Regions from separate parts of the Homo sapiens genome. Here all the other regions are linked to region 1. Evidence: promoter capture Hi-C in 16 types of primary human blood cells and fetal thymus (Javierre and others, 2016). All regions are on one chromosome and are shown on one strand. Each heading gives the region's core, a stretch centred on a gene start or on the middle of the fragment in contact. The rest is flanking DNA. Distances are from core to core; before and after follow the strand shown. Region 1 holds the start of CD1D (CD1d molecule). Region 2 has its middle 5.6 kb from the start of OR10T2. Region 3 overlaps OR10K2 (olfactory receptor family 10 subfamily K member 2).

Region 1 (2,761 bases), core at 204-2,703:
AGCAGAATGGGAGGAATCAGATTATGGAGACATGATCCTTGCCTTCTGGCACCTCTCCAGCTGATTTAGAAGAGGACACAGAGGGAGACAGACATATGGCCATTTCTATAATTATAAACTCTGCTACATGCTGAGAGGATGGCTTCTCAAAGCCAGTTAGTGTACAAGCAGTGGAGGTTGGGACTGCCCTACTTCTCCTGCCTAGGGTCACACAGTCTGGCAGATCTGGAAAGACTTCCCTGAGAAAGTGACCTTGGAACTGATACCTTAGTGGAAATAACTAGGCATTGGGAGGGGGTGAGGTGAGGAGAAGGTCAAGAGCTTTCATGTAGAGGGAACTTTGTGCAGAGACCTTAGTCAGGAAGAGGTTTTGCATAGTGGAGGAACTGAAAGCTAACAGCCAGGCTACAGTACAGAGCAAATGATGCTGGGGTGTGAGGTGATGTCAAAAGGTAGACACCAGGGCTAGAGGGCGCATAATCTTGCAGGCCGTGCTAATGATTTTGTTTTCTACCCAAGAATGCTACTTCAGGAGATCAGTCAAAAGGTTAGGGTGATGGTGACGGTGGAAATATAGAAAAAGGAATTTATTCAAGAGGTATTCAAAAAGAAGTGAAATAGAGATGAGTTGGAGATAGATTGGATAAAAAGAGTGAGGGAGAGGGAGGTGTCAGGCTGCAGCCCAGGTTCTGAGTTGCCAAAGAGGAGTCTTTTCCTCCAGGTGAGCTAAGGCTTAGAACCACGATTTTTGGTCACTTTTTCTTATTTTCAGTGTGAGAAGTGGCGAGTTGGCTGTCCAGGTACACACTGTCATCTTACACTTACTGTTTAAGACAGAGGCGCATATTTGGAAAGTGAATGAGTCAGGAGCCAGAGGAGAAGGTATGCCGGCAGAGCCTAGGGCGGAGAGGAGGAAGAGAGTCTGGGGGCGCGTCCCCAAAAAGGAGACAGGGAAGACAGAGCAGAGGCCGGGGAGGGGAGAGCAAGGACCATGACAGGAGGAAAGAGAGGCTAGGGAACACTGAGGTGGAGGAATCCTGGGATATGACAGTTGTAAAGAATTGTAGCCAACCTAATCCAGTTCTCTCAATGTGCAACTGAGGAAATTAATTTTCATGCGTTTACTTTATTGTAAATGTGGTACTTGCACTTGAGAAATTTTGGAAAACATAAAGATGTAAAGCAAATTAAGATCACTCATAGTCTTTCCACCTAGAGACATGTACTGCTAAAGCAAGGACTTTGATCCTTTTTTCCCTTTGCATTTTTACCATGGTTGGAATTGTAACACAGACACAACCTTATGTCCTGCTTCCAAAACATAAATAATGGTTGTAAAGCGTCCCACACGTTGACCCAAAGTCTCCTTTGAAACAGGAAATTGAGACACGCCGGTTGTGAAACCTACTGAAGTGAGCGGCGGCGCCAGGATTCCTGGGACCCCGACCTCTTTGCAGCTCGCACAGCTAAGGGCGAGGGCGCCCTTCGGCAGAAGCAGCAAACCGCCGGCAAGCCCAGCGAGGAGGGCTGCCGGGGTCTGGGCTTGGGAATTGGCTGGCACCCAGCGGAAAGGGACGTGAGCTGAGCGGCGGGGGAGAAGAGTGCGCAGGTCAGAGGGCGGCGCGCAGCGGCGCTCCGCGAGGTCCCCACGCCGGGCGATATGGGGTGCCTGCTGTTTCTGCTGCTCTGGGCGCTCCTCCAGGCTTGGGGAAGCGCTGAAGGTGGGTGGAACGAGGGCGCTTGAGTGCACTCGCGGGAGGGCGGAGAGAGGGAGCTGGGTAGGGACGGGGAGGGCAACGCCTGATGGGGACTGGTGAGACCCGGGACGCACTGGCGCGATCTAGGTAGAAAACTCGCTGCTCCCTGGCTCCGGGGAGAGGCAGCGCGGCACAGAGTTCGCTGGCATCAGCCGCCTCCTGAAGCTCATCTCCTCTTGTTTCTTTCTTCCTTCTCTTTATGCTGGCTGCTCTCCCGGCCACTTGCTACACGCCTCCAATCTTCATTCTCTCCCAGTCCCGCAAAGGCTTTTCCCCCTCCGCTGCCTCCAGATCTCGTCCTTCGCCAATAGCAGCTGGACGCGCACCGACGGCTTGGCGTGGCTGGGGGAGCTGCAGACGCACAGCTGGAGCAACGACTCGGACACCGTCCGCTCTCTGAAGCCTTGGTCCCAGGGCACGTTCAGCGACCAGCAGTGGGAGACGCTGCAGCATATATTTCGGGTTTATCGAAGCAGCTTCACCAGGGACGTGAAGGAATTCGCCAAAATGCTACGCTTATCCTGTGAGCTGAGGGATAGGATCCTGGGCCGGTACCCAAGGGGAGAGAATGGCCACAGAAACTCAACTGGGAGACTGTGGCACCACCTGATGAGATTCTCTGCTCTGTCCACCCTCTTCTGATTTCCCTTCTACCTGGAGATGTCCCAGGCTTTGACTCCTCAAAGTGTCCCTCGTTCCTGCCTACTCCAGGTCACTTACTTTCCTTTCCCTGAAGTCTGGGTCCCCATTATAACCTGCACATCAATTTCTTCTCTTTCATCTCTCCCAGTCTTTTAAACCCTTCTTTGATCTTTCTCCATTCCTCTCCACAGATCCCTTGGAGCTCCAGGTGTCCGCTGGCTGTGAGGTGCACCCTGGGAACGCCTCAAATAACTTCTTCCATGTAGCATTTCAAGGAAAAGATATCCTGAGTTTCCAAGGAACTTCTTGGGAGCCAACCCAAGAGGCCCCACTTTGGGTAAACTTGGCCATTCAAGTGCTCA
Region 2 (2,763 bases), core at 194-2,693, 220 kb after region 1:
GATTCAGCAAATGACTTCATGAATAAAAACATTCTGGAATAATAAGCCAAGTAGAAATATAAGAATTAGGAATAAAAAGTCAATACTGAATGTTTTGTGCCTAGGACACTCAAAGGAAAAAGGAGTGAGGAGGAAGACTGAGAACTATTTCTTGTAGTGGCTTGGCTGGTCACATGAGAAAACTTTCTGAAAACAAAATTGCTGGGAAAAATTTTAAAAAATTTTAGAAACCTATTGACAAGTTGAAGGTATAGTAGGAATTTTTAGGCCAAAATCTGAAGAAAATAAAATCCACAGAGGAACACTGGAAATTGCTTCTATTCTGAGGACATTTATTTACCTGTATGAAATTACAAACTCAAGCTGTTGATTTGAGAGAATCACAGGATGAGGCTGACAGAAATTAAAGACCAGAATCTAACAAATGGGGGAGTCAAAAATTAGATATTAAAGAGATTTTCTAGTTCCCATATTTGATGCTTTGACATCTGGACCTTCCTGACCAGGAAAAAAGCAGCCCTCCTAGGGTTAGCAGATTCATAGAGATAGAAAATGAATTTAATTTCATGTGCAGTCAAACACATCCAGAAGTCATACCCACAATTGCCTATTTTTGCATGCTCTTGGACTGAGGGACACTACTTCCTTTTCCTAATCCCCCTGGGGCCAGGTGTCAGACAACTAAGGATAGTCCTGGAACCCAGTGAAACTGTTTAAACTATCCAATTCTAAACCTGCTCAAAACCACTTACCCTGCTTTGCCTCAAAACCACTCTGAAGACTCTCCAAAACTTCCCTTTGCTTTCTGCCTACAACTGAACTTTGTGCTCTGGTGTTCTCCCCATGGCACTTCATGTGTGGCGTGATATGCCACCTTCCCACTCAGGCACTCAGGAACTCTAAGTAATCAACTATCTTTCAATGGCAGTCATCTCTCTATCTGCTGGTCTTACCCTATCTGAATAAAAATAAAGTCAACATTTTAAAACATATTGAAGGAGAGGAACAAAGTTGAAGAACTGACACTATCTGACCTCAAGACTTACTGCAAAGCTACAGTAATCAAGACAGTGTGGTATTGGTGAAAGAACAGATAAATAGAAAAATAAATGGGCTATCAAGCCATGAAAAGTCATTGAGGAACCTTAAATGTGTATTGCTAAGTGGAAAAGAGCTGTCTGAAAAGCCTATATACTATGTGGTCCCAACTACATGACATTCTGGAAAAAGCAACACTATTGAAATAATAAAATGACCACTGGTGTTTTCCAAGGATTCAGAGAAGGAGGGGAGGGAAAAATAAATGGGGCCCAAGGCATTTTTAGGACAGTGAAACTATTCTGTATAATACTCTAATTGTGACTATGACATTTTGCAGTTCTGAAAATATGTAGCATGAACCCAAATGTAAAATATATGGACTTAGGTTAATAATAATGTGTCAACATTGGTTTAATAAATAAAAAATGTACAGCAATAATTCAGAATGTTAATAATAAGAAAAACTGTGCAGGAGAGGGAGGCCACAACGGAATTTGATATTTTCTGTGTATTTTTTCTGTGAACCTAAATATGCTCTAAAAATAAAGTCTACTGAAGAAAAACAAAAAGAAAATAAGATTCTCATAGACATGATATGTAGAGATACAGGCCAAGCACAGTATGATTCAATTTATATAATGATCAAGGAAAGGTCACAATGATGGTGGTGGAAGTCAGGATAGAAGTTATATTTATAAATGCAATACCTGAGAGGCAGTACAATGGAACCCTACAGTGTTCTCATAATATTTAATTTATTTATTAGATATGTTCAATTTGTAACACTTTCATCAAGCTAAACCCTTATGATTTACGTCCCATTTAGTGTATATATTATGTTTTAAGATATTTACTTTAGTTAAAGTATACTAATTAGAGTTTCTCTTTGGGGAATAGTGAGCTAGAAATTTTTAGTCAGCCCACAGACTAGTAATCACTAGAAAAACTACAAAAATATTGGAAAAAAATCAGATCGAAGGCATCAGACTTTAACAAAGAATTAGTATTCAGGAAAAGCAACTAACCTGTGATGTTGTCCTGGTATTTGGGAGTAATTAGCTCCCAAGGAGAATCTGACAATTCCGGAAGATATTACCAAAAAGTCAAGAAGTTGAGACACACCGAGGTAAAGAGCAAATATATAGATCATGAACCACTGAGGAGTGATGGGGCTGGTGAACTTCCTGAACTTTGAATTGACATTTAAAAGGGAATATAATAGGAACAAGATTAAACAAGAAAAAAATCAACTTTCACAGGAGCCAAATTCAGTTTCAAACAGCCTTAAACCCTGGTAAACTTGAGCCAAGACTCCATTTAATACTCTAGCTCCATAAGTCCCTACTCTGAAAAGTAGATCATAGCAGCATTTTGGGTCTCTTGGGATCTGAACAGGTTAATAGACAGTATATCTTATGATCCCTAGAAGGCCTGGGTATTTTTCTTTATCCAGTACACAGATACCTTAGTAGATGGCAAAGTTCTCTAGGGAAATATTGGAACAAGATTCTCAGGATATAATTGTGGCCATGCTGTTGTGTCTTTCCTCAAAATTCCCCATCTACCCTCACAATCAAGGGGTTTTGGGTTTGGGAATTGGTGTTGAATTGGCAATTGGGTGCAAAGACATGAATTAAAACACTATAACTTACTTTTATCTGTTTGTCAGACATGAAATAAATGTCAAACATCACTTTAGTTGTCTGCTCATCTGCTTCATTG
Region 3 (2,991 bases), core at 419-2,918, 240 kb after region 1:
AGGGAAATTGTTCTTCTCACAATTTTACAAAGAGCTGATTTGAACTCTTTATTTCTCAAGCTATAAATCATTGGGTTGAACAATGGAGTTATAATAGTGTAGGATACTGATATTAGAGCATCCTGGCTTGAGGAGTAGTTGGACTGAGGCCTTAAGTAGATAAAGGAGGCACAGCCATAGTGGACAGTGACAATAATGAGGTGAGATACACAGGTAGAAAAAGCTTTGCACCTACCCAGTGTGGAAGGAAACTGAAGTATGGCAGAGAGGATGTGAACATAGGACACCAAGATCAACAATAAGGGGATAGCCAGGACCAATGTACAGAGCATGAAGATGACAATCTGACTAAAGTGGTTATGGTGAGATGCCAGCTTGAGGACAGGAGCAATGTCACAGAAGAAGTGATGTAGTTGATTGGAGGAATAAAAAGGCAGGTGAAATACCAAGGATGTGATGATCTGTGCAACAGTGAAGCCACAGGCACAGGCAGCAGCCACTAGTCCCATACACACCCCATGTCCCATTAGCACTGAGTAGCGCAGTGGGTTACAGATGGCTATGTAACGATCATAACCCATGACTGCCAGCAGAAAGGAGTGAGAGCAGCCAAGGAAGAGGAAGGAAAACATTTGGATGGCACAGCCCAGGAAAGAAATGGTCTTCTTCTGGGACAGCAGGTCAACCAGCATCTTGGGTACAATGATGAAGGTGTAGCAAATCTCAGAGCAAGAGAGGATGGCAAGGAAGAAGTACATGGGGATATGAAGGGCCCTGTCCAGGACAATGGTGGAAATGATGATTGCATTGGTGCCCAGAGTGAACAGGTAGAGGAGCAGGAAGATAACAAAGAGCAGCTGCTGCAGCCTGGCCAGGGATGAGAAGCCGAGGAAGATGACCTCTCTCACCACAGTCTCATTGACCCGCTCCATGGAGCATACATCATCAGGAGACAATTAGGGAGAGAAGAGGAGTCAGCACCAAAAGAAATCCCTGAAAATAAGTAGATTCACAGAAAATTGATCATCAGCATGCGTTCTCAGATTTTGAATTCTGAACTCATCTTTTCTCCTCCCTCTTGTTTTTCCAAGACATGATGTTGCTAAAATCAGGCAAGCGTTCATCAAACTTTGAGTCTCCATAGTAGTTCTAACACCATAGCCAAAAAGTTCTTGATACTTTTCAGATTCAAACAACCCTTCACCTCCATTCCCATCATGAGGCTGTTGCTCAGATTCTTAGCCTTTCACTCTTAGATTATCTTGCAAAGCTTGTCTTTTTGGCTTTCTTGTATCTGTATTCTCTCAAAAAAAAAATCTTTCCTACAGTTGCAAAGTAAACCATCTGAATATACCATAGTTGTCTATAACTCAATGGTTCTTAATTGTCATTCTCGTTACACCTAAACCCCCACTCTTAGTTTTAGTCTCTCCATAACTTAGATTCAAATTCTCTTCAACACTGTTTTCCTTACCTCCTGGCAGGAATTGTCAGTTATACTTTTATTATGCTGGCTCTTGTTTCTGTAGCTTTATCCTGGTCCCAAAGTGGAAAAAAATTATCTTCTTCTTTCTATTCATTAATTTCAAGGTGGAATATGTCTACACTTTCTCTAATACCTATATCAGAGTCTTTCCTCTGGCAGGGAGGACCACAATCTTTCTTCAGGATTCTGTCCATTTTCATCACTTCCCTTAAATCCTTCTGAAGTCACATTATGGCTCCTTTCCCATGGCCACTCTTACATCTCTGCAACCCATCTTTCCCGTGATGACAGCCTAATCTTTTAAAATATAAATTGTATTATATTGCTTCACTCTTCAAAAATTTTACTTATGGCTATAGTATAGAGTTCAAACTCTTCATTGTTTCCAAAAGTCTTTCCTTTGGGGAAATAAACTATCTTTCTGTGCTCATTTTCAGACCTTAATGGGATGTATCACTATTGCCCAAATATGTTCTGGACTTCCTTGCCTCTATTCCTTGCTCATATTAGTTTGTTATTCACTTTTATTTACAGATATTTTATGGTTCTTCTGAAGCCTCCATTAAAATCTACCTTTTTGAAAGCTTTCTTGCTACCTTCTGGTGAAAGGAGTTGTTTCTTCCTCAGAACTCACATAAGACATTGATTGCCAAAATTATGTGATATTTACTTAATTTTGAAATATTCTAATGAATTGTTCTTATATCTATTTTCTCTACCAGATTTTGTACCTTTGAGGAAAATATGTGAATTTTATGTATCTTTGCCTGAGTTCTCCTCTGCATCTAGAACCATATTAAGTACTTAACACCTTCTCAATAAATAATTGTTATATAAATAAGAGAGTTAACTTGCCACATTATCTATTTTATTCATGGGCAGCACAGACTTCTTAGAACTCACAGAGTAAGAGAATTCTCAGTGTTATTTCTTTCTAGGCACAAGAATTGCTCAGTGTCAAGAATGCTAAGAATGTCTGCACCACATAAAACTAAGTCTGGCCCATTTAAATCTGAAAGAGAAATCTCTGTTTACAATAGAAAACTGGCACTGAAGAGAGCATCTGGTCATCAGAATTCTGTGTACCTAAGGTGATTCCCAATTCCTAGTACATTTGCTGCTCTGTAGAGCAAATTAGAATTCAAATAAGTGAGAGAAAAATCATAAAGATAACCTTACAATTATCCCATTAAAAGTATATTATTAAAATCACCTTAACTAATATTAATAACAAAATTAATGACAATGCATTTTTATGTTACCTAAGAACCACCAAATCAAGAATATCAGATAGTACACATGTATTAAGCAGTGTGATTATAACAATGTGTCAGCTACTAGGTCTGCAATGAAGATACACATTTAAATAAGACCCAGTCCCGAGCCTCTAGTTCATGTTTCAAGGGTGAGACCCATTCAGAAGATATTATTAAAAATGTGGTGATTGAGATGATGGATATGCATTTGAAATTATAGGAGCACTCAGGAGACATATCTTGTATACA

What was found. Contacts are between HindIII fragments. The CHiCAGO score rates a contact against its expected background, and 5 or more counts as called.
Region 2: a fragment that was not itself captured here is called in contact with the fragment with the promoter of CD1D in region 1 in 1 of 17 cell types (fetal thymus); the score reaches 6.1 in fetal thymus.
Region 3: a contact is called between a fragment that was not itself captured here and the fragment with the promoter of CD1D in region 1, in 1 of 17 cell types (fetal thymus). The highest score is 5.4, in fetal thymus.

What each region holds. Positions count from the first base shown.
Region 1 is chr1:158,179,442-158,182,202 of GRCh38, forward strand. CD1D (CD1d molecule) reads left to right here and starts at 1,454. Exons shown (of 6, transcript NM_001371762.2): 1 at 1,454-1,721; 2 at 2,014-2,280; 3 at 2,591-2,761. The coding sequence starts at 1,661. RefSeq lists a silencer at 463-512 and an enhancer at 1,925-1,984. The HindIII fragment of the contact is 7,344 bases long and covers 1-2,761 here.
Region 2 is chr1:158,403,638-158,406,400 of GRCh38, forward strand. No RefSeq gene overlaps it. Among named protein-coding and RNA genes, the nearest start is that of OR10T2, 5.6 kb to the left of the region's middle. The HindIII fragment of the contact is 5,103 bases long and covers 1-2,763 here.
Region 3 is chr1:158,419,935-158,422,925 of GRCh38, forward strand. It overlaps OR10K2 (olfactory receptor family 10 subfamily K member 2), which reads right to left. Exons shown (of 2, transcript NM_001004476.2): 2 at 1-993. The coding sequence starts at 932. Among named protein-coding and RNA genes, the nearest start is that of OR10K2, 4.8 kb to the right of the region's middle. The HindIII fragment of the contact is 800 bases long and covers 1,269-2,068 here.